Linked DNA regions of Homo sapiens: regions 1, 2, 3, 5 and 6 are each linked to region 4. The links are contacts of gene promoters, found by promoter capture Hi-C in human tissues and cell types (Jung and others, 2019). All regions are on one chromosome and are shown on one strand. Each heading gives the region's core, a stretch centred on a gene start or on the middle of the fragment in contact. The rest is flanking DNA. Distances are from core to core; before and after follow the strand shown.

What was found. Contacts are between HindIII fragments. The study calls those that stand out against the background at their distance.
Region 1: the fragment with the promoter of WFIKKN1 here is called in contact with the fragment with the promoter of NME3 in region 4 in 1 of the 25 tissues and cell types used here (spleen).
Region 2: the fragment with the promoter of RHOT2 here is called in contact with the fragment with the promoter of NME3 in region 4 in 1 of the 25 tissues and cell types used here (dorsolateral prefrontal cortex).
Region 3: a fragment that was not itself captured here is called in contact with the fragment with the promoter of NME3 in region 4 in 1 of the 25 tissues and cell types used here (spleen).
Region 5: a contact is called between the fragment with the promoter of PKMYT1 here and the fragment with the promoter of NME3 in region 4, in 1 of the 25 tissues and cell types used here (spleen).
Region 6: the fragment with the promoter of WDR90 here is called in contact with the fragment with the promoter of NME3 in region 4 in 1 of the 25 tissues and cell types used here (spleen).

Annotation. Positions count from the first base shown.
Region 1 is chr16:629,277-632,357 of GRCh38, reverse strand. WFIKKN1 (WAP, follistatin/kazal, immunoglobulin, kunitz and netrin domain containing 1) reads right to left here and starts at 1,373. Exons shown (of 2, transcript NM_053284.3): 1 at 934-1,373. The coding sequence starts at 1,104. RefSeq lists enhancers at 1,280-2,014, 2,195-2,489, 2,015-2,748. The HindIII fragment of the contact is 11,828 bases long and covers 1-3,081 here.
Region 2 is chr16:666,882-669,409 of GRCh38, reverse strand. RHOT2 (ras homolog family member T2) reads right to left here and starts at 1,278. Exons shown (of 19, transcript NM_138769.3): 1 at 1,174-1,278; 2 at 999-1,057; 3 at 841-922; 4 at 711-754. The coding sequence starts at 1,210. It overlaps WDR90 (WD repeat domain 90), which reads right to left. Exons shown (of 41, transcript NM_145294.5): 40 at 2,421-2,505; 41 at 1,580-1,978. The coding sequence ends at 1,821. RefSeq lists silencers at 811-900, 1,001-1,100, 1,161-1,500 and an enhancer at 886-1,567. The HindIII fragment of the contact is 52,780 bases long and covers 1-2,528 here.
Region 3 is chr16:709,814-712,971 of GRCh38, reverse strand. No RefSeq gene overlaps it. Among named protein-coding and RNA genes, the nearest start is that of METRN, 3.7 kb to the left of the region's middle. RefSeq lists a silencer at 983-1,112. The HindIII fragment of the contact is 2,976 bases long and covers 243-3,158 here.
Region 4 is chr16:1,769,676-1,772,792 of GRCh38, reverse strand. NME3 (NME/NM23 nucleoside diphosphate kinase 3) reads left to right here and starts at 1,250. Exons shown (of 5, transcript NM_002513.3): 1 at 1,250-1,304; 2 at 1,383-1,513; 3 at 1,622-1,723; 4 at 1,800-1,912; 5 at 2,027-2,473. The coding sequence starts at 1,259. The coding sequence ends at 2,144. It overlaps MAPK8IP3 (mitogen-activated protein kinase 8 interacting protein 3), which reads right to left. Exons shown (of 32, transcript NM_001318852.2): 32 at 2,442-3,117. It overlaps MRPS34 (mitochondrial ribosomal protein S34), which reads left to right. Exons shown (of 3, transcript NM_023936.2): 2 at 147-189; 3 at 280-898. The coding sequence ends at 572. RefSeq lists silencers at 1-44, 915-1,504, 1,815-2,014 and an enhancer at 525-614. The HindIII fragment of the contact is 25,298 bases long and covers 1-3,117 here.
Region 5 is chr16:2,978,540-2,981,720 of GRCh38, reverse strand. PKMYT1 (protein kinase, membrane associated tyrosine/threonine 1) reads left to right here and starts at 1,275. Exons shown (of 9, transcript NM_004203.5): 1 at 1,275-1,435; 2 at 1,809-2,073. The coding sequence starts at 2,064. RefSeq lists enhancers at 1-832, 833-1,708, 1,709-2,585 and silencers at 942-1,301, 1,312-1,541. The HindIII fragment of the contact is 14,611 bases long and covers 1-3,181 here.
Region 6 is chr16:647,341-650,943 of GRCh38, reverse strand. WDR90 (WD repeat domain 90) reads right to left here and starts at 1,579. Exons shown (of 41, transcript NM_145294.5): 1 at 1,518-1,579; 2 at 1,090-1,181; 3 at 777-953; 4 at 582-690; 5 at 235-405. The coding sequence starts at 1,527. It overlaps MCRIP2 (MAPK regulated corepressor interacting protein 2), which reads right to left. Exons shown (of 5, transcript NM_138418.4): 3 at 3,400-3,527; 4 at 3,060-3,161; 5 at 2,470-2,824. The coding sequence ends at 2,754. LOC105371038 (a long non-coding RNA gene) reads left to right here and starts at 1,631. Exons shown (of 2, transcript NR_135177.1): 1 at 1,631-1,989; 2 at 2,329-2,486. RefSeq lists silencers at 1,205-1,334, 1,445-1,544 and enhancers at 720-1,542, 2,965-3,014. The HindIII fragment of the contact is 7,525 bases long and covers 1-3,603 here.

The DNA.
Region 1 (3,081 bases), core at 124-2,623, 1.1 Mb after region 4:
TATTCTTTACGTTGTACAGACGAGGAAACTGAGGCCCAAGGAGGGCGTACAGTGCTCAGGACCACCCAGCAGGTGGTGCGGGCCAGGACAAAGGCTGGACATCGGCTGCAGCACCCCCACCACCATCTGCACTGGTCCCGGATGGAAGGAGGGTGGGAGGACAGGGAGGACAGTGGATGGAAGGAGAGGGTGGGAGGAGAGGATGGAAGGAGAGGGTGGGAGGAGAGGATGGAAGGAGAGGCAGTGACGGGGTGGGAGAAGAGGATGGAAGAAGTGGATGGGAGGAGTGGATGGGAGGAGTGGATGGGAGGAGAGGGTGGGAGGAGAGGCAGTGAAGGGGTGGGAGAAGTGGATGGGAGGAGAGGATGGAAGGAGAGGCAATGACGGGGTGAGAGAAGAGGATGGAAAAAGTGGATGGGAGGAGTGGATAGGAGAGGATGGAAGGAGAGGCAGTGATGGGGTGGGAGAAGAGGATGGAAGAAGTGGATGGGAGGAGTGGATAGGAGAGGATGGAAGGAGAGGCAGTGACGGGGTGGGAGAAGAGGATGGAAGAAGTGGATGGGAGGAGTGGATGGGAGGAGAGGGTGGGAGGAGAGGATGGAAGGAGAGGCAGTGAAGGGGTGGGAGAAGTGGATGGGAGGAGAGGGTGGGAGGAGAGGGTGGGAGGAGAGGCAGTGACGGGGTGGGGGTGGTCGCCGAGGATGATGGTGCCCCAGGGTGGAGGCACATGGGGAGCATGAAAGCTGGAGTGGGGAGGGCTCTTATTCTTAAGACAAATGAGGGCAACGATGGGGGTGTCTCTGGGCCCCTTAAGGGGCCCAGACCCAGACCCCCCAGAAGTCTGGGGAGCCCAGGCAGAAGGTGGCACCTCCAGCAGGGTCTTGCCCAGGCTGGCTGCTCTGAGCCCCAGGACCCCGGCCCGACCACACTCACCTGGTCCCTGCTACACTCGCGCTCACAGGTGCTCTGGGCGTCCACCCACAGGTTGGGGCTGAGCTGGTTGGGGCACACGCCCGGGTGGCTCCCCAGCCCTGGCAGCAAGCCAGCCCCCGAGGTCAGCCGGAGGAGGAGCAGGAGCGGCAGGAGTGGACGTAGGGCGGGCATGAGGGCCGCCGAGCCAGGGGGCCGGGGGGTGTGGCCACCAGCCCCTCCTCGGGCTCCACAGAGCCCAGCTTCCTGCAGGCATCCACCCTCCGGGCCTGTGGTCGGTGCCCCCACCAGGACCCCGGGGCTCCCTTTTGCCCCTGAGGCTGAAGCCTGCAGCAGATGCTTGTCCTGACACCCCTGCTGGGTGGGTAACGGGGTCTCCAAGTTCTCAGAGGCCGTCTGTGTGACGCTGGTTCCTCTCCAGCTTCAGCCTGGCCCCTCTGTCTGAACCGTGCGGGGGCTCCCAGGCCCTGGTCAGCACAGGGCAGAGGGGAGGAGGTTGGGGAGGGGCCAGAGGCCCATGAGCACAGAGCCACTGGCCATGAGGGTCACCGGGGCGGGGAAGGGCTGGCTCTGGCTGGAGAGGGGGAGGGGAGGGGACCCTGTAACCTGAACCCCTTCGTCCACCCCTGGGCTGAGATCAATCTCCTTGACGACCCTCAGTAGGGTGGGGGCAGGGCCAGCAGATCCCAGCTTTTGTCCCTGGCGCCCTCTGGACCCCAGGCTCCTATGCCATGGGGGTGGCAGGCACGGGCCCTCCCCGCAGAGCGTGGCTGACCACAGCCTGGGTCCCCCGGGCCAGGTCCAGGCTGGCAACGGTCACGTGCGGCCGAGGGCTTCACTCCGCTCCGAGGTTCCTTCCCCCCTCCATGGCTGTTTCAGGGGCACAGGGGTCTGCAGGACGCCCAGCACAGCCCGGCCTCCTCTGCTCTGCTGCCCCTGTTGGAGTGGGGCCCAACCCGGCAGGACTGCATTCCCAGAGACCCCATCCCTGAAACCAGGCAGCGGGCTTGGGGCTCAGGCCTGTCCCCAAGGCGGGGCAGGTGCAGCAGGAAGAGGCCTGTGGCCACCACAAGCATAAGAACAGCCCGAAACGCTGATGCCGGAGCCTCGGCCCACGCACCGTGTAGCCCTGGACGTGGCTCCGCGTGGGATGGCACCGCCCGAGGGAAGGCCAAGTGCAAGGGCGTCTGCAGCTGAAAAGAGCAAGTGTCCCAGGGCACCAGAGCCTTGCCCTGCCCCAGCCCCCCGTCGGCGGGGCACACATCCCCAGGCTGGCTCCTCTTCGTTGGGGAGGGCAGGGGGCTGGCCTGCCTGGTGCAGCAGGACAAAAGGCTGCCTGGAATCTACCCTTCCAAACCCTCTGTGGCTCCAGATGTCTGGGGCCTCAGGGAGTGGTTCTCTTGAGACCGGATGGGAGTGTCCCCCTGACCCTGTGTCTGACCTCTGACCCAGGAGGCAGGGTAACAGGAGCCTGGTCTGGTCAGAATGAGACCCGGAGACGGCTCCAGGCGCCAGTCCCTGCTCTACAAGGAGACTGGGGGTGGGCCCTGATAGCGTGGGGGTGGGGGTAGCTAGGCCAGACCCAGCAGCAGGCGGCTGGGCTGGAGCTGCCAGGGAGGGGCTTAAGGCCCGGACATGCCCACGAAACAGCACAGGGAGGCACCTGAGCCAGAGGCTGTGGTCTGGTCCCTGTACCAACTGGAGTGCCCCGTTCCAGCTCAGCTGTGACCTCCGGGGCGTCCACACCCCCCTGGGCCGGGCATAGCAGACACCAGATTGGCCAGCGTGCAGGCGGCTCTGCTGAGCGGGCCGACTGACTGGAGGACCTGGCCCTCTGGAGTCCTGCTGCTGTTGGGGACAGTCCGCCCCAGGCCATCTGCTGCCGGGGACTGTGAGCGAGGGCTCAGCACAGCCCAGCTGGGATTCCATCCACCGGGAAGAGGAGAATGGCCGTGACCAGGCCCAGCTGCTCCAGCCCAGCTCCAGCCCTCACTTTGAGGCGAACCCAGCCAACCGCGGCAGGTCAGCCCGGTCAGCGCAGGGAACAGCAGGCAAAACAAAGGCCAGAGGTCAGTTTGCCGGGTATGAAGCAGCACTGGCCCCTGGCACGGGGCACCGCCACTGCCAGACCCACCCCACCAGACACAGCAA
Region 2 (2,528 bases), core at 29-2,528, 1.1 Mb after region 4:
AGCCTTCCCTAAAACCTGCCTCCAGCCTGGTGTTGGCAGAGCAGGCACTCCCCAGTGTCACACTGGGAGCTGCTGCTGAACCCTCAGAGAAGCCTCTTCCCCGCCCACTGCCAGTGCAGGGACACCAGGCCCCAGAAGCATAACTGTGGTCAGCAAGACCCTTGGAGCAGAGGGCTCAGGACAGACACGGCCACACCTGCAACCCAACACCCTGCAAGACAGCCGCCGCCTTGGCCCCTGCCTCCCCCCTCGCTACAGACAGAGTGACAGGACCGCAGTGAGGGGTGCCAACAGCAGGGGCTGCCCTGGGTGGCTGTGGCCTGTGCCCTTGCCTGGAGATGTCCCCGGCACACGTGCTCTGGTACTGGGAGCTCCGGGTGCCCGGAGGCCGGGACGGTGGGCTGGAGCACACAGCACGGGGACGTGGCGCACACAGAGCCCACAGGAAGAGCAAACGCTGCTGCCACCCCGGCAGGAGGGAGGGAGAGCCCGCGGGGAAGGGTCCTGTTATCCCTGGAGCACCACTGGACTGAGCGGTGCCGGCTCCCAGCGGGGTGCGCTGTAGGGGCCCCGACAACCCTCAGTGCGGAGGTCACAGAATTATCAGGGCCAAGGACACCCGGAGCACCTCGGTCCAATCCCCCAGGCTGCGAAGCGGATTAGGCCGAGCCCGCGCCCAGCCCCTCCCTCGTCCCGCGCACCACGGGTACCTTGTGGATCTCCTCCCGCAGCTCCTCGTCCGTCTGCTCGGCTTCTAGGGGGACAAAGAGACTCCACTGCGGACCCAGCAGGCCCGCCGGACCGCTGCGGGCCGGGCCCCCGGGAGGCTACGGCCGCTACCTGAGTAGTCCACGATGTGGGTGGGCACCTTCTCCGGGGTGACGTCCGCGGGGATGGTGATCTCCTCCGCGCGGGGAGGGACCTGCAAGGGACCCGCGCGCTCACCAGGGACCCCCGGCTGGGCCCGCTCCCACCCCCGCGGCGGGCGTGCCCCTTACCTCCTCGGGGAACTCCTCGCCCACCAGGGACAGGATCAGCGACGTCTTCCCCACCTGGGCTGCGCGGGGCGAGGCGGTCAGCGCGAGGGCCAAGGTCACGGCGCCCCCCGACCCCCGAGACCCTCACCCCGCCTCACGGCCGCCGCAGCTCCGAGACCCCCGGGCCGGCGCCTACCCTCGCCCAGTAACAGGATGCGCACGTCCCGCCTCATAGCTGCCGCCCGGAGCCGCTCCCCGACCCGGAACCCGGCCCCGACCTGGTCCTCAAGCCTTTCGCTCTGCCCCCGCGCCCGCCCCGCACTTCCGGTTCTCGGCCCCGCGCTGTCCCCACACTTCCGGCCCCGCCCGCACAGCCGCACCAGCGAGCCGGGCGGGCCAGAGCGGACAGGCTGTGCGGCGCGCCACCGTGTGGACGCGCCGGCCACGGCGGACAGCGCAGGGTCCTGGCGCCCTGGCAGGCCGAGCGGCCATTGCTTCACGGCACCACAGGGGCCTTGACAAACAGCCGATTAAGGGACGGGCAGAGGCTGAGCTCAGGCCAGGAGTGACCAGAGACAGCCAGTGCAACAATGCAGCAATAATGCAATAAATGCCCATGTTTATTACAAGATAGAAACATTAAAGATTTCTTAGGCAAAAGGGCAACAGGTATGAAAGTATTCACAGGGCGCCAAATTTACAACAGCTTGCTCCAGGCGATTTACGTGAATCCTGGCCTGTCCCAGCATGAGGCCATTGACAACCTGGCGCCTCTGCCAAGCCTGTGTCCAGGTGCCTGGCATGACCAGGCGTGATGCCCACCACCACAGTCCCTGCTGCATCTCAGAGGCCGGGGACCTCCCACACAAGGATCTCGTTGCGGGCGGCCGTGAAGAGCAGCCTGGCGGACGGTGTAAACCTGCACAGGTGCACTGCGTTGTCGTGGCCGGCAAAGTCTTGGGCAGTCCCCATGGCACAGTCTACCAGCCTCAGCATGCACTCTGTGGGTAGACGGTGCAGGTGGGCCAGGGCCAGGACCAGGCAGCACTCAGAGGGCTCCCCCAACCCACCCAGACTGTCCCCACTGGGCATGATGCTGGTCGGGGGAGCTGGTGCTAAAAGGGCTCCTGGCTGTGCCCTCCACGTGCCACTGGGACTAGGGGGTCCATCACTGCCAGGCTGTCGGCCTGCAGCTGGGCCAGTTCCCTCCTTAAAAGTCGCTGCCACCCGTGCATTCAGGCCCTGTGCTGGGCGCTGTGCCTGGTTCCTCACCTGCCTCATCATCTCCTGACTCCAGGACCCTCTCTAGGGCAGATGTCCTCACCCCACCCCAGAGACGAGGAGCCCGGGGCACAGGTGAGGCACCTGTCTTGGAACAGGGCACCAGTCAGCCCACTTGGCCCCCACCTAAGACAGGCCCAAACTGCATCCACCAGCACTCACCAGCAAAGCCAACAGCCAGGAGGTGGGTCCCGGGGGACAGGCTCAGGGACATGGCAAAAAAGGGCAGTGGTATCTTCTCCACCACCTGTGAGCAGCCAGCGTGAGGCT
Region 3 (3,158 bases), core at 481-2,980, 1.1 Mb after region 4:
GATGAGCCTGGAGGCTTATGCGCTGAGCAAAATAAGCCAGAGACAAAAGGACAAACACTGTTGGATTCCACTTCTGTGAGTCACCTTAGAGTAGTCACGGTCATGAGGACAGAAAGTGGAGCAGGGGCTGGGGAGGGGAATGAGGGATTGGAGCTTAATGGGGACAGAATTCAGGAGCTTGATTACACAACACAAATGTACTCAACAGTACGGAACTGCACACTTTAAAATGGGTAAAATGGTAGATGTTATGATGTATATCTTACAATTAAAAATAAAAATTGTCAAGGCGCAGCGGCTCCCACCTGTAATTTCAGCAGTTTGGGAGGCCAAGGCAGGGAGATCACAAGGTCGGGAGTTCGAGACCAGCCTGGCCAACATGGTGAAACCCCATCTCTACTAAAAATACAAAAATTAGCTGGACGTGGTGGCGCACGCCTGCAGTCCTAGCTACTTGGGAGGCTGAGACAGGAGAACCGCTTGAACCCGGGAGGTGGAGGTTGCAGTGAGCTGAGATCAGGCCACTGCACTCCAGCCTGGGTGACAGAGTGAGAGTCTGTCTCATAAAAATTAATTAATTAATTACATAAAAATTAAGGCCGGGTGTGGCAGCTCCTGCCTGTAATCTCAGCACTTTGGGAGGCTGAGGCAGGATGATCGCTTGACATCAGGAGTTCAAGACCAGCCTGGCCAACATGTTGAAACCCCAACTCCACTAAAACTACAAAAATTAGCTGGGTGCAGCAGCTCATGCATGTAGTCTTAGCACTTTGGGAGGCTGTGGCAGGAGGATTGCTTAAGCCCAGGAGGGTGAGGCTGCAGTGAGCTGTGATTGCACCACTGCACTCCAACCAGGGCGACAGAAGAGACCCTGTCTCAATAAAAATTAAAAAATAAATAAATAAAATATAAAAATCGTAAAGGTTAAAGGGTAGACTCGGCCTGGGGCTGAGCACATGAGGTGCTCGCAGAGGTGGGGAGAGGCACACGGGTCGGCCGCTGCAGCCACCCAGCCGTCCAGGGCTGCTGCCGCTTGGCGGTCCCCGGGTCAGCACGGTGGGCTCCAGGCGCCCTCTGGTGGCGGCGTGAGGGTCAGCCCCAGACACCCTCCTGACAGCCTGGGCCCCGGACTTCTCCCCAGGCCTCCTCCAGAGAGGGGCCAGTGTCTGTGGTTGGAGGGAGGGGTTCCTGGGGTGACCTGGTCTGGAATGGCACATGCCTGGCCCCGAGTTGACGCCTCAACCCCGGGCGTCCCTGCCTCCTCCCCAGCCTCATCTCCGGGGATCCGGTGCCAATGCAGCCACCCACAGGAGAAGCCCTGGACACACACCCCTTTTCCTCACAGCCCCCGGCCCCACCCAGGAAAGCACCTGGCATCAGTGAGTGCTGTGCTGCCTACAGGAGGGGCCTGGAAGGCCGAGTCTGTCCTCAGTTGCTATGGGTACAGGACCCGACTTGCCAGGGTGCTGGTGCTCAGTAAATACCAGCAGACTAAGTGGGGGGTGGCTGGGCGGAGGAGTGCCTGGAAGGCATCCCCAAGCTTAGGTGATGCCGTGGCTGTCTGTGCTGTTTGGGGGCCCCCTCAAGTGCCCCAAGCCCCAGACCCTTGAGTGCCCTGAAACCCCAGAAGGGGCCTCTCTCCATTTCCACCCAAGTCAGAACGCGACAGCAGCAAGACATACTCAAGTCAGACAAAAGGAAGAACTTCCCTGAGGCTTTGTTTCAGAAACCTTGGGCCTAGCGCGTGAGGCCACCCCTGGAGAGTGCAGAGTCTGGGACAATCATCTCTCCCGCCTGCGGGTCAGCCTGGCCGTGGCCAAACACAGACGCCATATCACAAGGCCCCTCAGCCCAAGGCAGGGCGGCCAGCCTCACAGCTTGTCCCGAAGCCTGAGACTTGGTTTCTGTTCCTGTCTTGCCCAGAGGGCCCTTGGAGCTGCAGCCTGAGGGGGTGCTGGGGTGGGGGCGGTCGAGACCCTGGTCACTGCCACATGGTTCCCACCTTCGGCCACTGCGTTCTCCCCCCAGACACAGGTTCCGGCCCGTGGAGGACACCAGTGCTGCATTTGCCATGAGCTGGGCCCCAGCAGTGCGTGGCACAGGCAGCCCACGTCCCGCAGGGGAGCGGCTGCGGACAGGTGGCTGCGCCACGGAGTGCCGAACAACCCGCTGGGGACACCACAGTGCCGGGCACAGAATAGCAGCTGTCACGGCCAGGGCAGGAGCTGGCTGGCTGGGGCCCTGGGGGAGCAACATCAAGGACGAGGGGAGTTGATGGGGGGGCAGGAAGGGAGCCCCAACCCTGGGGAGAAGAGGGGCAAAGGCCCTGAGGCAGACAGAACTTCGAGTAAACCAGGAACCACAGAGGGTGAGCCCTGGGGGCTCCTTGTTTGCTTGAAGCTCCATCTGCCTCAGAGCCTTTGACCTGCTGCAAAGGGGAGGCGGGTAAGGCCGGCCCCACCCAGCCCATCTGCCCTGAGGGAGTTGGGGAGTTTGGACGCACCGGTGAACAGGATCCCCCAGGAAATGGGGAGGAAGCCTAGAGAGAAGGGCCAGATCGTAGGCCAAGACCCCCGCCTGTGTCTCTGTTCACTGGCAGCGGAGCGAGGAGAGAGGTGTGGGCTGACCTGAAGCCAGCGCCTCCTGTGTCCCCAGCTGAGCCCTGCACGGGATTGGCCAAATGTGCTGCTCTGCGGCCGCCCTGCTGCCCCCTCCCTGGGTGGAGCTGGGGTCTGGGACAGTGAAGATGGCTCCCACAGCTGAGGGGCACTGGGTGCCAAGAGCCTGCCAGACCCTGGGCCACCCAGAAACATGCTCTGATAGTGCAGCTGTGAGCACTGGCCTGCGTCCCCTCTACCCAGCCGACCTATGAGGCTCAGGGTGCTTGGGGGCCCATCAAGGACATAGTCCTAGCTGCCGACTCATCCAGGCAGCCTGCACAACCCCTGGCTCCCCTCCACCGGCCACCTGCCCCCCTGCACAGGCAGGATCCGGCCTCGCCCACCCACAGGCCTGCACCTCCGGGCCCACGGCAGCAAGATTCCTATCTTGGGGATGCTTTCCTCCCTTTGCCGAGAGACCCACCCCCCCACACCTTGCCTCTCTTCAAGGAGCCGAAAATGCAGCTGCCGACTGATTTGCTGTGGAGCTAAAAATAA
Region 4 (3,117 bases), core at 1-2,500:
GCACCCCGTCCGCACCCCGCCCCTGCAGCCGCCTGGTCTCCCCGCCTCCCCTCCTCCCTGCAGGTTTGCGTGGCTGAGGCTCCCACCTCCTGACCTCGGGGGCCGAGAGCTTTGCGAGCTGACCCCGCTTCCTTCTGGCTTTGCAGAACTTGGACCACGGGAAGGCCTGGGGCATCCTGACCTTCAAAGGTAAGGCTCGGGAGAGCGGGTGCCCGGCAGTTCGATGCCGACCGCCGACGGCACAGCAAGTGTGTGCAGACGCCTCTTTTTCTTCATCAGGGAAGACTGAGAGCGAGGCGCGGGAGATCGAACACGTCATGTACCATGACTGGCGGCTGGTGCCCAAGCACGAGGAGGAGGCCTTCACCGCGTTCACGCCGGCGCCGGAAGACAGCCTGGCCTCCGTGCCGTACCCGCCTCTCCTCCGGGCCATGATTATCGCAGAACGACAGAAAAATGGAGACACAAGCACCGAGGAGCCCATGCTGAATGTGCAGAGGATACGCATGGAACCCTGGGATTACCCTGCAAAACAGGAAGACAAAGGAAGGGCCAAGGGCACCCCCGTCTAGAATGCCAGAACCAGCGGGTGGCCTTAGGGGCTGTGAGGCAGTGGGGACCTTATTGATGAAAGAAACCGTCTTTGCGTTACACCCGAGTCTGCCTCTCGGAGCAGGGAGCTCACCTTCCGCGACGTGTTCTGAGGGTCTGCATCTTAGGGGGGAGGGCTGGGGCAAATCGCCACCTGTGCCTTTCCTCTGGCCCTGCTGCCCCCACACCCAACTCCGAGGGCCCACGCTGGGGAAAGCGGGAAGCGCTCGCTCCCTTTCCCCCATTAGTGCTCTCTCTGCCTGGATCCCGGCAGAAGCTATGAAAGGGAATAAAGAGAAAAGAAGTACCCAGGGTCGTGGTGTCTTTGCGCTCTGTCTTTAGGACCGGGGAGAGAAGGGCTGACGCTGTGGTCGTGGCCCTGGCCGGGGGGGCGCGGGGGGGGCGGGGTTCGGGCGGTGCGGAGCAGGGCGCCGCGTGGGTGGAACCACCTGGGCGGGTTGTGGGGGATACAGTTAGTGTCCGAGCTGCTGGAGGAGACTTGGCCTCCGCAGCTGCCCTCCGGCCCCCCACGGCTGCCGGGTTCCGGGGTGCAAGTGAAGCAGCCTCCCCGCGGAGGCCGCAGCGCCCCGACCAGGCCTCTTTAAGCGCAGGCCCCGCCCCGGGCGCCACCGCCCCGCCCCGCGGATCCCGCTCCCGCACCGCCATCATGATCTGCCTGGTGCTGACCATCTTCGCTAACCTCTTCCCCGCGGGTGAGCCGCGCGGCGCGGGCCGGGGGCGGGTGGCCGGTGCTGGGCCGGCCTGACGGCCCGTCCCCGCCTGCCCCGCAGCCTGCACCGGCGCACACGAACGCACCTTCCTGGCCGTGAAGCCGGACGGCGTGCAGCGGCGGCTGGTGGGCGAGATTGTGCGGCGCTTCGAGAGGAAGGGCTTCAAGTTGGTGGCGCTGAAGCTGGTGCAGGTGGGGGCGCGGTGAGCGAGCGGGGGCGCGGTGTGGGGGGAAGGGGAGCGGGGACCTGGGGACGCCTAGGTGCCGGGTGCGGGCGCAGGCGGCCTGACCCTTCCGCAGGCCTCCGAGGAGCTGCTGCGTGAGCACTACGCCGAGCTGCGTGAACGCCCGTTCTACGGCCGCCTTGTCAAGTATATGGCCTCCGGGCCGGTGGTGGCCATGGTGAGTATCCGGGAAGCGGGCGGGCGGCTCCGGGACCCCCACCCCCGCGTGATACCGCGCCCGTTCCTCCGCACAGGTATGGCAGGGGCTGGACGTGGTGCGCACCTCGCGGGCGCTCATCGGAGCCACGAACCCGGCCGACGCCCCGCCCGGCACCATCCGCGGGGATTTCTGCATCGAGGTTGGCAAGTAAGGCCCGCCCCGGGGACGGTCCCAGCCCCGTCCGGCCTCCCCCTGTTCAGCCTGCGTGGTACCCGTGCCGGAGGTCTCTTTCCCACGCTCACACGCGCCTCTTCCGCGCAGGAACCTGATTCACGGCAGCGACTCGGTGGAGAGTGCCCGCCGCGAGATCGCTCTCTGGTTCCGCGCAGACGAGCTCCTCTGCTGGGAGGACAGCGCTGGGCACTGGCTGTATGAGTAGCCCGGCAGATGCGCGTCACAGAGGCTCTCACACTCCAGCCTCCTCCAGGGCCCAGGTGGGCGGGCTTCTGGCCCCACCCCACAGCGCTTGGAGCATCCCTTTGGACGGGCTGCTGAACATCCACCTGTCTGGACGTTGCATGGAGGGTGGCGCAGGCCTCTCCAATCCCTGGCGTACAGGGTTTCCTGCCCGAGGAGCTGCTCCAGGAGCCTGCGCGGCTCGCCTGGAAACGTGCCAGGACACTGTCCTGGTGCCCAGCCCAACGTGGTCCAACGTTTTTTTATAATAAAGTCCTCGTTTTCGTTTCGATTTGGGCCCAGGAACAGGCAGCTACGACGTTAAGACATTTATTACATACAGAGCAGATATGTGGGTTTGCTTGCAGGGCCAAAGCCTGAGGAGAATCGTCACCCCTCCCCCAGCCGCCCCACTGCTCAGCCCGGAGTCACTTCGAGATCCTGGGGGAACAGACGAGGGAGCGGACATACATCACAGTGGAGGTGGCAGGGTGGTGGGGAGAAGCCGGCAGCGCAGCGGCTGCAGCCCTCGGTGGCCAGCGGGGCTTGTGGGGCAGCTCCCCAAGATCTGTGCTTCTCTGGTTGGGGGTGGGTGCGGGGGCTGGGCTGCCCTCATAAGGGCCTCCCAGACAGGAGTGCAGTGGGCCTGGAAGGTAGGAATAGGCCAGAGAGGCCCAGCTGGGCAGGGAGAGCAGTCCAGGGTGGCGTCTGCCCTCTGCGGGCTTGGAGTCGGCTGGGGGCGGCTCCATCCTCAGCCCCACGGGCCTCTGCTTGGTGGCCTCTCTGTTGCTCCCTGGAAGCAGGCCACAGCGGGCAACCCTAGGCACTTAGTAGCGTGTCTGGGAGCTGGGCTCCGTGGAGCCCCGTGCAGGAGGCAGGCCCCGGGAGCACATCATCCCCCATCAACCTGAGGCTGAGCCTGTGTCCTAGGACTGATCCCGGAGAGGCCAGGGGCC
Region 5 (3,181 bases), core at 26-2,525, 1.2 Mb before region 4:
CCGACTTGCTCCGCGAGGGCCCCTGCTAATCACTTTAGGGGATCATCCCAGCGTCCTCAGCTGTTTTTTTTTTTCCAGGAGAGGAGACTAATCCGAAGCTCAGAAAGGCTCAGTGCATTCCCAAGGTCGTTCAGCCAGGAGAGCGCTGAAGGGATCTGAGCTGAGAGCAAGTCTCAAACTCAGAGAATGGAGGAGCTGCCCCGGAAGTGGCTGCTCGAGGCTGCAGTGAACTATGATCCTGCGGCCAATCGCGGTGGCTCACGCCTGTAATCCCAGCCTTCTGGGAGGCCGAGGCGGGCGGATCGCTTGAGGTCAGAAGTTCGACACTAGCTTGGCCAACATGGTAAAACACCGTCTCTACAAAAAAATGCAAAAATTAGTTGGGTGTGGTGGCGCGCGCCTGTGGTCCCAGCTACTCAGGAGGCTGAGGTGGGAGGAACGCTTGAGCGGGGGAGGCGGAAGTTACAGTGAGTCGAGATCGCCCCACTGCACTCCAGCCTGGACAACAGAATGAGACCCTGTCTAAAAATAAAATACATGAGCCGAGTGCGGTGGCGCGCGCCTGTGATCTCACATACTCGGCAGGCTGAGGTTGGGAGAACCGCCTGAACCTGGGGACTGCACCACTGCATTCCAGCCTTGGTGACAGTGAGACCCTGTCTAAAAAAAAAAAAAAAAGTATCTGAGGCCTGTTGGCAGGGAAGCTGCAGGCAGGCGAGGTCAGGCCAAGCAGAGTCCTGCCTATCTGGAGAGCTTCCTGGAAGAGGCGGCTTTTTCTGGCTCCCGAAGCCGTGCGCTAGGGGTTGGGGGTCGTGCGTCTGGCCTCCCACCGCGACCCTGGTTCAGAACACGGCCGGAGTGAGAAGGGGGGTGCCGGGACCCAGGAGGCCGTAGGGACTTCCTGGTCCTACCCGGAGTAACCCTGGGGCTACGCCTGCTCCGAGCACCGGGATGGCGGTCCCTTTTATGGACCCAAACACTACGCCAGCCCAGCGAGGGCGGTGGGTGTCGGGTGCGAGGCCTGGAGGGCAGTGGGCGTCCCAGGGACTGGGCGGCTGAAGCCCCGCGCAGCGACTCAGAACCAGGCCGCCACCCACGCCCCGGGCCAGCGCGGAGAATCCTGTGCGCCTGCGCAGTGAGCGGCGGGGCGGCTCGGCGGCGCGCACGCAGCACGAGGGGCGGAGCCTCGGAGCCCGGGCACCCCTGACGGGCTGCACTGGGGAGGGGGAGGAGCCTCGAGGCCGGTTTGGAATTTTTGGCGCGAGCAGCTCCGCGCGCGTTCACGGGCCGTTCCCCCTCACGGGAGTCCTCCGCCCGGGCGTCCGGAACAGTCGACGGCAGACTCCGGCCCGCTGAGCCACCCGAGGGGTCCCGTGGCCTCCGCGGACCCGGAATCTGGGCCCTCGCGGACCCGCGCCCCGCCCAGTCGCCCCAGGTGAGCCCAGACCCCGCCGTGAGGGGCCTCGGCGTGGCCACCTCGCCGCTCCCCTCCGCCTCGCCAGGTCTGCGTTACCCCTGCCCCTCAGGCCTCCCCGGCGGCCCGCTCGCGTCCCCTCAGGCCCGCCCCCGCGAGCCCCTGCCTCCCGTCCTCCCCAATTCCTGGTTCCCTTGCCTCGAGCCCCTTCCCAGCGGCGGTCCCGCCCTACTCGCCCCTCCCGGAGACCCCGCCTGCTGTCCATCAACCCCGCGCCGCCGCCCTCCCCGTGACAGTCCTTCCTCCGTGACAGCCCCTGCCCCGGGACAGCCTCTCTTCTTCTGCAACAGCCCCTCTTCCCTCGTGACAGCCCGTCCACTGCTCTGTTCGCCAGGGCTTCCCCACACCCACGGAGTGAAGTCAGCCGCGGCCCTGCCTGGGAGGAACTTACCGTCTACCGGGAAAGGTGGCCAGCAGATGTGTCGGGCCTGGTGAGAGGGTGAGGCGAGACGGCCCGATCGCCCAGGGCCCCGGAAGCTGCGGAGGTCACCCCCGCCTGGCCTTAGCTCAGGGACACCCTGGATTCACGTGGGAGCCCCTGCTCCTGCCTCCCCCGTCCCACCACTGAGGCTGTTGGGCCAGGCCAGTCATGCTAGAACGTAAGTCGTAGGGCAGGGACGGTGGGAGAACTGGGTTAAGATGCACAGGCCCAGGTCCCCGAGTGTGCCAGGGTTGGGCCTGGAGGCTGTGCTTGTGACCAGTGACCTCCAGGATCCCAACACCCTGGCTCCTGACTTGGAGAAACCCTGGGCTGGGACTCTGAGGTAGTTAGAGTCAGAGGAAGAGTCTCCACAAGATGGAGGGCAGCCTGCCAGCCAGGCCCAGGTAGCATCGCTCCCCTCACCCCTGTACTCCCTCAGGTACTGGAGACTGCTCTTTTTAATTTTTTATTTACTATTATGTATATTTTTTTGAGATGGAGTTTTGCTCTTGTCGCCCAGTTGGAGTGCAATGCCGCAATCTCGGCTCACCGCAACTTCCACCTCCTGGGTTCAAGCATTTCTCCTGCCTCAGCCTCTGAGTAGCTGGGACTACAGGCATGCACCAGCACGCCCGGCAAAAATTTGTATCTTTAGTAGAGATGGGGTTTCACCATGTAGGCCAGGCTGGTCTCGAAGTCTTGACCTCAAGTGATCCACCCACCTTGCCTCCCGAAGTGCTGGGATTACAGGCGTGAGCCACCACACCCAGCCGCTCTATTGTTTTTTATAATACTTTGGTGCACCAGCCTCACCAACATGGTGAAACCACATCTCTACTAAAAATATAAAAATTATTCTAGTGTGTTGGCACACGCCTGTAATCCCAGCTACTCAGGAGGCTGAGGCAAGAGAATTACTTGAACCTGGGAGTCGGAGGCTGCAGTGGGCCGAGATCATACCACTGCACTCCAGCCTGGGCAACAGAGTGAGACCCTGTCTCAAAAACAAACAAACAAACAATACCTTGGGGCATAAAGTGTTCCACGGTCCAATCCAATTAAATTTTTTTTTTTTTTTGAGACAGAGTCTCGCTCTGTTGCCCAGGCTGGAGTGCAGTGGCATGATCTTGGCTCACTGTAATCTCTGCCTCCCAGGTTCAAGCAATTCCCCTGCCTCAGCCTCCCGAGTAGCTGGGACTACAGGCATGCACCACCACACCCAGCTAATTTTTGTATTTTTAGTAGAGATGGGGTTTCACCATGTTGGCCAGGCTGGACTCGAACTC
Region 6 (3,603 bases), core at 330-2,829, 1.1 Mb after region 4:
ACACAGGGCACCCGCCAAGGCACTGCCACGCCACCAGCCCAGCCACCGCCCCACCCCAGGGCTGCCTCTGGGATGGGTTCTGACCCCAGGGCTGCCTCTGGGATGGGTTCTGGCCAGAGCTCAGAGACAGCACAGCTCGAGCACTGTATTTTCCCAAGCACCCTGGACTTGGGCCTCTCCAGGGCTGAGAGCATGGGTGAGATATGGAGTGGGGAGTGCAGGTGCGGCCCTCACCAGGCTCAAAGCACAGGTCACTGGTGTACAGGTTCCTGACCAGCAGGCTGGCGCACAGCCTGATGCTCTTGAGATGGCCGTAGCACCGGTTCAGGTAGACCAGGAGAACGTCCTGCAGATCGAGCTGCAGGCAGGTCCAGCGGGCTCCGGAGGGGGCCAAACCCACCAGATCTGCAGGATGGGCACTCAGGGTCAGCGCCCACCCTCCTGACAGCCCGCGACTCCCAGAACTGTGAGCTTGTGCCCCCGCCAGGTTGTCCTCCAGGCCGCAGAGGAGCCTCACTGGGCCTGCACCAACTCCCTCCAGCCACCTGTCCTGGATCATCCACACCCCATCTTGGTGTCACCTCTCTGAGGTGTCCTGGCCTCCAGGACCAAGGGAAACTGGAGCCACGTGGCCGTAGACTTAAACTCCTTGAAGAGGTTGGAGAAAGACACACGGATGACTTGGTTGTCCTGTGGGGACGGAGCAGGGCCGTGAGGAGACAGGGGCCGCAGGGGTGCCGGGGCTCCCACGCAGCCCCCAGCCGCGGGCTCCGTACCTTGGAGGACACATCGAGGTGGATGACGAAGTGCTTGCTGGGCAGGGGCCGAAAGAGCACATACAGGTATCGTCCCGTCAGCCCCAGAGACTGGGTGCTGCTCTTAGGGAGCTGGATGTAGTTGGCGGCAGAGACTGAGCCCCGAATGCGATACACGGCGCCCTTCAGGGTCTTGTCCTGGAGAAGCGGGAGCCCGCATCACCGACAGCACCCAGAAGAAGTGCAGCGGGGGCGAGGGGGCCCTCGGGGGCGGGGCAGCTCTCCTGGGGGCAGGGCAGGGGTGTGGGCTCCGGGCGAGCCCCCGGCCGCCTACCGTGACCACGGCCACGTCCCCCTGCTTGGCGGAGCGCTTCCACTCGTCCACCCGGAAGTGTCTGAAGACGTTGAGGAACGGGTGCTGCCACGCTGCGGGGAGCGGGCGCCGGGCGTCAGGGGACTCGGCCACGCGAGCCGGGGCCACTGCGGGGCTGGGCCGGGCCTCGGGGACCAGGCAGGAGCCGGGGCTCTCCGCGCCTTCCCCGGCGACGCCAACGCCAGCTAGGCTGGCGGGACGAGGCCGGGCGCCCGAGGGAAGCCAAGCTCCGGGAGCCCGAGGGTGGGCGCCCGGCAGACGGGACCCTGCCTGAGCGGGGACTCTGGCCTCAGGGCCTAGGCGGGGGCCCTGAGCGCTCCGGCCGCCGACCCTGGACCCCGGAACCCCGGAACCCGGGATCCTCGGGACCCCCGCCAGCCGCGCGCTACCTCGGGCCATGGCGCCGCCGCTCGAGCTTCCCGCCTAGGCCTCCGCGCGCCCAGCGCAGAGTACGCCCCGCGACGCCAGGCAACGGCTGCCTGGCAACGGTGCCACTTCCGCCATTACTTCCGCCGTCATGGCGGCGCCCTGGCCACGTGACCTCCCCGGTGGGAGTACCCCGCTCACGTCAGCGGCCTCCAGGGTTGCTCCAGCCGCGAATCCCGCTGCCCTTTGCCCCGCGGGCCTCCCAAGGCAGCCCCCTGTTAGCCCGACCGGCTTCGAAGCCCGCGCCGGTTGCGGATCCTCCGCCGCGCCCACCTGTCAGCGCCTCGGCCGGCCGGGGCTCCCGCCGCATGCAAGCAGCGAGGCGAGGTCGCGCTGAGGCCTGGCCATGCCACGGACGGCCGGGCCTCACCCTGCCGCTCTCTCGCCGTCCAGAGGCCCCTGCTCCACACCTGGGTACCCTGGGTCCTGACTCAGGTGGGCTGGGTCATCCCCGTCCATCAGGGAAGGTAGTGCGGGCGCCCGCGGAGGGGCTGGTTCCCACGTTCGTCCTATCAGGTTCCCCACGTACTCCTTCGCCCAGTGTCCTGCGGCCGGGCCCGGCGGATTCAGAATGGGACCTGGCGTTCTGAGACACAGCCCCAGTGCCGGTAGTGGGGGGTGGTGGACTGCACTCCGGGGCCATTTAATGTCTTTAGGCCTTGAGTCTCGGCTTCGGTCCCAGTCAACGCCAACGGGAGAGGAAAGAGGAACCAAGTGGGGTCCCCAGACTTCCAAGCAAGGTGGGCTGGCTAACGTCCCTCCTACCTGTCGCAGGGCAGCTGGGTGAGAAGCTAACGGCTTGAAGGAACAGGGCTACAAGGGGAGTTTGTGCTGGGCCTGGCGTCCCAGGCTGTGGACTGGAACTGGACATGAGAACCCCCCCTACACCCTCCCAAGTCAAAGACACTCCAAAAAGACAGTTTCTCCACTTTATTAGCCTGGAGCTCCTCCCTGCCAGCCCCAGGGGCTGGTCGCTGGTCCCTGGGCACAGTGAGCAGGGCTGAGGTCAGACGGGTTCGGCCCTTGGCCATGGCAGCTTGGTTGGGACAGCCGGGCCAAGGGAAAAAAAGGTGCAAAAGTCCAAATGCTGGCACTTCAGGTGTGGCCGGCACCCAGCCAGGCGCAGTGGGTGGGCAGGGCGCCATGCTTCTCTCCTGGCGACAGGTCGGCCGTGTAGCAGCGCCCCCTCCCAGCAGCCACTAGGAACAGCTGGTGATTCTCGCCAGGAACTGCTGCGCCCACCACTCGTCTAGGTCAATGGGCACAAAGTCTGTGGGCAGAGAAGGCTGGGCAGTGATGCTGCCTCCCAGGCCAGCCGGCAAGTCTCCCCTGGAGCTAACCACAAGCCGCTCACCCGGACTCCGAGTGCGGCAGGCGCTGGGAAGAAGGGGTTTCTGCACAAGAGTCCCCTCCCTCATCCCCTGGGGTGGGAACCTGGCAGGGCCTGGGTCAGGATCAGAGGGGCTGGGGGGTCTCTCCTGGGGGGACAGGGTTGGGGGGCTCACTCTGCAGCCGGGGATTGGGGGTCCTCTCCACGTACTGCACAGGCCTTGGCCCGCCCTCACCGGCTGGGCCACCATCCAGCTGCTGTTGCACCTGCTGCCAGGCTGTGGGAGGAGGGCAGTCGGGCTGAGCCAGGTCCCAGGCACCCCATCGCCCACCCAGGGCCTGATGGTCACCCTGGACTCCAGCCCCACACAGGGCTGGTCACAGGACACAAGGGCAGAGTGCCAAGGAAAAGCACAGCCATGCAGCGGCTGTGGGTCAGCTTGAAGTGGGGCCATCCCGGGTCCATGGTTTTGCGACCCAGCAGCCTATGCCGCACCCTCTGGCCCCGCTCGCTACCTTCGGACACAAAGCGGACATTCTCCTCGTGGGCCACTGTGTAGGTCTCCTGGGTCCCCTCGAAGGATGGGGACGTGGAGGGGGCCCGCCGGCCATTCACACGATTGAACACAAGCCTTGGCCCTGGACTGCAGGAAGGGAGGAGACGGACATGGTTGGTGCCCATCCCAGGTGCGGTGCTGCCTGGCAGAACTCAGGAGCAGC